Linked DNA regions of Homo sapiens: region 2 is linked to region 1. The links are contacts of gene promoters, found by promoter capture Hi-C in human tissues and cell types (Jung and others, 2019). All regions are on one chromosome and are shown on one strand. The core of a region is centred on a gene start or on the middle of the fragment in contact, and the rest is flanking DNA. Distances in the headings are between cores, read along the strand shown. Region 1 holds the start of SEMA3C (semaphorin 3C). Region 2 has its middle 80 kb from the start of GNAT3.

The links. Contacts are between HindIII fragments. The study calls those that stand out against the background at their distance.
Region 2: a contact is called between a fragment that was not itself captured here and the fragment with the promoter of SEMA3C in region 1, in 1 of the 25 tissues and cell types used here (H1 embryonic stem cells).

What each region holds. Positions count from the first base shown.
Region 1 is chr7:80,916,986-80,920,728 of GRCh38, forward strand. SEMA3C (semaphorin 3C) reads right to left here and starts at 2,066. Exons shown (of 18, transcript NM_006379.5): 1 at 1,843-2,066. RefSeq lists an enhancer at 1,586-1,655 and a silencer at 2,203-2,332. The HindIII fragment of the contact is 9,014 bases long and covers 408-3,743 here.
Region 2 is chr7:80,430,035-80,433,777 of GRCh38, forward strand. No RefSeq gene overlaps it. Among named protein-coding and RNA genes, the nearest start is that of GNAT3, 80 kb to the right of the region's middle. The HindIII fragment of the contact is 5,075 bases long and covers 1-3,743 here.

The DNA.
Region 1 (3,743 bases), core at 816-3,315:
TGGATTTGATTCATTTGTGTCTGGAAGTCTTTGCAACAAGAGAAACTTTCATCTTCCAGCAAATTGATGCTACCATCAAAACAGAACAAAGCAGTGAAGAAAAACACTGATACCCAAAGGAAAGCCCAATATTTTAACGGATCTTCTCTCTAGAAATCCATTACATTAAAAAGACTTGAATAGAATTGAGCTAAAAGAATATTACTGGATGAGAACTCTTTCCCCCCACTAACGTAACAGCAGCAGCAAAATCTCACATGAGCATTCATGTGTACCTACTCACTTCAATAGTCATTAGCTCTTTTGGAGTAATTGTCTCTGGAAGTGGTGTTTCCTTACATAAATCTATGTGTGCTCAATCCTGGATCACTGAAGTCACTGGAATCAGTTATCTGCCATTTTATCCAGATGACCAACAGGCAGTTGTTAAATGATGCAGTTGAAGTAACCATGGACTAGTGCCAAATTCAAACCAATGACCTAGTGGTGAGCAATCCAGTGAGCCATGTATCCACCAATGCATATTTTAAATAAATCAACCAGAATGTGGGCTGTCAAAATTCCCAAAGATAAATCAAAGAGACAGGTGTCACTGCTTCAAACTATAGATATAAAATTGGTACATGCTATTAACTAATATCTGAATCCCAAGGAAGACCAGATAATGTGTTACCATAAACCTACAGGAGCTCTAGTGGCTACATCATGTAAAATAAACTCAGGACCATTAAAGAAACACAATCATTTTGCTTCTACCATAATTACACAATAAAGTGACCCAAGAGTCCAGTAAAGAAATTTATTTTTACAGGTTACAACAATGCTGATCTTCATTATTTGGCTTTTCAAATTAAAATTTCATAGTCAAAATTATTAAATTCTTTGTAAGAACCACTAACAACTGAAAAAGACAGCTTCATTAATACAGAATAAAAAGAATTAAATGGAATATGCAATTTTAAACAAAAATTGTAAGTAGATTTCCTAGGTGGTGCATATGTTATGAGAGTTAGAAATGAAATTGTACGCTTCTTTTACCACACAGATGGAGGAAACTCTAGAGATGTTTGTGTTGGTAATTTTCAAAAGAAACAGTTTCTTCCTGCTTCCACAACCTCTTCACCCTGTCATCCCTAAATTAACTTAGAAAGAAACTGATTTTATGGGTGACTTTCCCTCAGTAATTTACCCCTTGGTTCTGTTGACTTCATAGTTAAAGCCAAAAGAAAAAAACTATTAATATGCCTAACCTTTGTTATGTTTACTGAGCAAGTTGATATTATTTACACATTTTTTTTACATATTGGTATCTTACCTTATATGTTTCTCCCAAAAGTACATATACAACCAATTGCAAAGAATACTGGTGATACAATGGCAGGTGAAACGAAGATAGTCTACAGGGCAATTTGATTTACATCCCACCTAGTGATGAGGAGTGAAAGACTGAAAGCCAAGTGTCTTAAATACACCCCCGCCTCCCCAACAGTATCTTACAACTTCTTCCCTTTAACTCAGACACAGACGTTCCTCTTGGTGTTTTCACTTCTGCTGATCGCAAACTAACAACACATTAAGAAAAGAATTCTCTTATCTCCTCTGGAGCAATTTTGCCTTTGAAGGCACTGTAATACTCAACTTGAAACTCTCCGCAGGTGTCACCGCCTAAAGAAACAACTCGAGCAGGGCTCTCAGCAAGGGGAAAGCTTCCCTGACAAACCGCGTGTGTTCTTAAGAAAATGTCCAGGCTTGAGCATACCAATGTATGAAAAATCAATATACAGGCCAAAAAAGTTATACTTTGCTAAATCTGTAATGCGGAAAATGACCAATTTAGCTTACCGAGGTTGAAAGAAATCAGCACGGAAAAGTCATCAGTTTGCTACCGGGGTTGGATGCGCTTGTGTCTCCAGTCCTTTTCCCAGACGACCTTATTTTCTAGCACGTCGCAAAGGTGAAATTCTTTCTTCCCGGTCCTCTGAGTTTCTTTGTAAAGGAATCTCAGCGCTGCAGTGCCGCGGCACCCGGAGCTCTTCTCCGCGTCGCTCAATCAAGCACCTCGGAGTGAATGGAAAGTGGCCGGAGGCCGGGGGCGAGCGCTCTTGGTGTCCGATTACAGCGCCGCGGCGCGCGGCTCCGGCTGCCCCGGCGCGCCGCCCTGCAGGCTCGCATCACCACCGCGCAGCCCCGGCCGCATCTCCGCCAGCCGCGAGGCCCCACCCCGAGCGCGCCCGCGAGAGCCTGGCAGGGAGCCGCGGGGGCGGACCGGGCGGGGCCGACCCTTAGAGCTCGCGGCTGGCCAGACGCAAGAATGCGCGGCCGCAGGCTGGAGCCCTAGCTCCGCAACCCTGCTCCTTTCGCAGTCCGCGGCGGAGTGAGCAACTTGCTGGGTGCGCTCCACGGTTTTTGTTGCCGGCGGCTCTCGAAGACTTACACAGGCTTTGCCTGGCCGTAAATATCAAAGTGCAAAGCAGTTGTGGTTTTTTATTTTTGCCAGGGAAGGATCACTGCAGCCTTTTAAGGCAAAGAGATGCGTTTTTAAAAGGACGTGAGTTTTGTCCTTATTCTGCTGCGTTTTTTTTTTGTTTTTTGTTTTTTGTTTTTTGTTTTGTTTTTGGAGAGGGAATCTCACTCTGTCGCCAGGCTGGAGTGCAGTGCAGTGGTGTGATCATGGCTCACTGCAACCTCCGCCTCCCGGGTTCAAGCGATTCTCCTGCCTCAGCCTCCTGAATAGCTGGGACTACAGGCTCCCACCACCACGCCCAGCTAATTTTTGTATTTTTAGTAGAGACAGGGCCAGGATGGTCTGGATCTCTTGACCTAATGGTCCGCCCGCCTCAGCCGCCCAAAGTGCCGAGAGCCACCGCGCCGGGCCTCTGTTGCGTGTTTTCTAAAACAGGTCAAGATAAACGACAATCTTGTTGCACAAGTGTATCCTTTTAATGGGTATTGTTTCCTATTGAGTTTCCTTAATGCCCTGAAAGCAGTAATTCTGTTGACCCCTCCACGTTGACTCATATCCAGTACGTTGTCCCCAACCATACTCCCAAACATAATTACACGAAGAAATTATTTGACAATTCTATGTGGAGAGGCTGTTCTGAGTTATGCCAACAGATTGCCATAACCACACATCTACAGAAATACATCAGAGGTATTTTTCCAGCATTACTTTCAGGTACACTCGTTAAACTCTGGAACTGACTTTGATGTTTAAGTGAAAATTACTTCTCCGGACCACAATAAACTAGATGTTTAAACATCGGGAGAAATGAGCTTTGATCCCCATAAAACAAGCAGGCACTTGCTTAAAATCACTGTGGGGCACAGCCCAGCAGATGTCACTCTACAGAAGGAACGTGGAGTGTAATATCTCCACCTTATACCTGACAATTCACATAATGAAACAATCATTAAATTCTTATAAACTGTATCATAGAAAACCCCTCTGGGGGTGCAAAATCATTGTTCAGTGGGAAAGTTGAATGAAATCTCAGGTAGGAGGAAGAGGTGAGTGAGACACATCTTTCATGTGTCTGGGGCCCACCTCTTGTGTTCAGTAAACATACACGTGTCTCAGACTCACGCTGCATAGTCAAGGAACGAAGGATCAAGTCAAATAATGCAAATTTATGAGTTCAAAAATACTATTCCAGGGCTAATATTATCTCCAAACGTCAAAAAATTAATATAGTAACAACAGTTAAAATTATTTTTTGTGATGATGCGTGAGAAGATCCTTG
Region 2 (3,743 bases), core at 706-3,205, 490 kb before region 1:
CTAAACAAGGGGTGGATTATTCATGCCTCCCCATTTTAGACCATTTAGAGTAACTTCCTGATGTTGCCATGGCATTTGTAAACTGTCATGGTGCTGGTGGGAGTGTAGCAGTGAGGATGACCAGAGGTCACTCATGACCATGTGGGTTTTGGTGGGTTTTGGCCGGCTTCTTTACTGCAAACTGTTTTATCATCAAGATCTTTGTGGCCTGTATATAGTGCTGTCCTCCTATCTCATCCTGTGACTTAGAATGCCTTAACTATCTGGGAATGCAGCCCAGTAGGTTTCAGCCTCATTTTACCCAGCTCCTATTCAAGATGGAGTTGCTCGGGTTCACATGCTTCTGACAAAACCTCAGAGGTAGAAGCCCTCAGAGAGATTAGGTGGTGTCTCTTTTTGGAACATTAAAGGTGTCAGACTCTCGGCTAATCTATCCTAGATCCAGGAAAGGGCCTAGAAACGGATCTAGGAAACATTAGCTGCATTAATGGAGATTCTCTACAGATGCAAATTTCTGCCACAAAAGACTGCTTTGCAGGGCCACTTCAGTCTGCTGGCCCTGTGGCAGCCATTTCAAAATACATCCAAGAAATATATTCTGCGGTAATAAATTGTGACTTCCTTCAGTTTAGCAACCAAACATGAGTTTTATATATTTTATTGTTAGAGTAGGTAGCTAGTCAGACATGAGCACCGCAGGAGAGGGAGCCCCCCTACCCCCCACCAGAAATGTCAGGTGACCATCAAGTGATGGTGAAGTGGTTGTTACCTGTCTCTCTAAGATAATTGGCCACAGCCAACACCAGGAAAAGGCAGTCTCCCAATTAACACAAAAAACCTGAAACTAGGGATCAGCAGCTTCCTGATAAGATCTTAGGAGTTAGGCAAGTGGGCTCAAGCACACACATTAAGAGGCAAAATGGTAGAGTTTAACTGGTGTATGGCCTTCTAGTGATATTCAGCTGGTAAGGGAAGAACGCCTCAAATGAGCATGCATATAGTTTCACTAAAAACACTGTGCATGCTCCTCTCCCAAGTGCTGGCAGGACACTGTGCATGTGGACAGCCCACCCAAAGGGAAGAATCAGGGGAGAAGGGACACATGACCCCAGATGAATGCCAACATATAAAACCCCAAGTCAAAGGTCATACAGGGCCCTTGACTCTCTCAACTCACCTGCTCAGCCCTCTTTCAAGTATACTTTCGTTCCTGTTCTAAACTTTTTAATAAACTTTCACTCCTACTCTAAAACTTGCCTCAGTCTCTCCTTCTACCTTATGCCCCTCAGTCAAATTCTTTCTTCTGAGGAGCAAGAATTGAGGTTGCTGCAGACCTGTATGGATTCACTGCCAATAACATCGTTGGTAAATTCTTCTTACTACCTGTGATTAACCATTTTCTGTTGCTGAGGCTCTGACACCTCACCTGGAACCAGTGACACAGCCTCAGGAGGTCCTGACACGTGCTCAGGGTGATTGGGCTACCGCTTGGTTTTATACATTTTAGGGAGATATGAGACATCAATTAATACATGTAAGATGTATATTGGTTGAGTCCAGAAAGGCAGGACAACTCGAAGCAAGGGCTTCCAGGTCATAGGTGGATTCAAGAATTTTCTAATTGGCAATTGGTTTAAAGAGTTAAGTTATTGACTAAAATCAATAGGAAGGAATGTCTGGGTTGAGATAAGAGTTTATGGACAGCGAGGTTCCCATTATGCAGATAGAATCCGTGGAAGGGAATATTTCTTACCAGTCTTAAAGAGTCTGTTCTATCAGTCTTAAGGCCTCTGTTTTCATGTTAATGTTGGTCAACTGTGCTTGAATTCCAAAGGGAGAAGGGTATAATGAGGCATGTCAGACCCTCATTTCCCATCATGGCCTGAACTAGTTTTTCAAATTAACTTTAGAATGCCTTTGGCTGTGAGGAGGAGTCTGTTCAGTTGGTTGGGAGGCTTAGAATTTTGCTTTTGGTTTACTTCTAATAAAGTTTTTGGATTTTTTATAATTTAGTTGAGGTGTAATTGAATTGAAATACAATAAGCTGCATATATTTAAAGTATATAATTTAATTTGCTGTGACATCTGTATATGTCTGTGTAACCCTCACCTTAATAAGGATAACAAGAATTTCCATAACTCTGAAAAGTTTCCTTGTGCCCCTTGCAACTCATCCCTTCTTCTGCCTTGTCCCAAGGCAATCACTAACTTGCTTTCAGTCATTACCACTTTCTTCACAAGAATTTGTAAGTGGACTCACACAATTTGTAGAAGGTATAAGAATGGTGAATAAGCAGATGAAAATTTCAATGTTTGTAGTCATCAGGGAAATGAAAACTAAAACTACAATGAGAGTAATATATGCTTATTTGAATTAATAAAATGTAAAAGGTTGATGACCAAACCATGTGTTGGCAGGGTGAAGCAACTGAAATTTTCATACATGGGTGTGGGAATGTAAAATGGTACAGCCGCTTTGGGAAACAGTTTGACCATTTCTTCAAAAGTTAGATACACCTGTCATATGACCCAGTCACTCCACTCCAGAGCATTTACTCAAGATAAGTGAAAACATGTCACGCCAATACTTTTACATGGATATTCATAGCAGCTTTATTTGTAATAGCCCCAAACTTGAAACAACTCAAATGTCAATCAGTATGTGCATGGATAAATAAATTATGGCATATCAATACAATGGAATATTGCACAGTAATAAAAAGAATGAACTATTGACACATGCCAGCAACAGGGCTGAATCCCAAAGTGTGTACATTTTTAAAGCTTTCCTGCCTTTAAATCAGAGGTTTTCAGTGAGGGAGAGTGAAGAGGCAAAAAAGGAAGAAGGGAGATCTGGCTTATTGTAATCATGTAAAGACTTTTTCCCTAAATGTACACACAAGATTGATTCCATGGAGTATATCAGGCAGAGAAAAACAGAAAGAATGCTAATATATTTGCAACTTCTTTCCTTGTCTCCCTTCCTCCATGGAAATGTCAAACATGGGAAAAGGAGAACTAGATATATTTAACTTTCTTGGCAAGTCTTTTGTCAAACTACACAGCTTTCAGCTTTTCTTAGGCCAAATGAATCCTAGATATTGACAGCATGAAAATATCCATGATTTTTAAGTATTTCTCCAAAATAGGAGAGACCCATGATGAATAATAGATAGGAAACCCTATTGAGCAAATAGATTTACTAGAATTTCCAGGCCCACATAGACCAAGCAAACCTGAGAGCCACAGTCCATTTTCTTTTAAGTAATATTACTTTGTAGTTGTTCTAGGAAGTAATATTACCCAAAAGAAAAAAGAAGAAACATCATGAGTTAATGCAACTTTGAGCTATCTAAGGGATAACAAAATCATTCTAGTCTTTTTATTAAGACTTTTACTTCCCTATAGCATAATTTCTTTATAATTGGTCATCCTGATAGTGACAGGAGGCAGCCAAATGCCTAGGCAGATAGGGGCAGGTACCCGGTGAAACCTCACCTCCAAGCTGAAGACAGTTTAAACCTGAAATCCAAGCTACAAGCTAAATCCTGGGACTAGATTGAGAACTTGTCCTCCTGTTTGGTGTGCTTTCCTCTGATTAATCCCCACCCTTCACCTATTTTACATATACCTACCCTTTCCTAATTGGTTTTCTATGCTTTTGTGCCCACCTTTGACTGGTGTTTTTACTTTAACCTTTGTTACATACTCACAAACCAATCAGCATACACTCCCCATCCTGT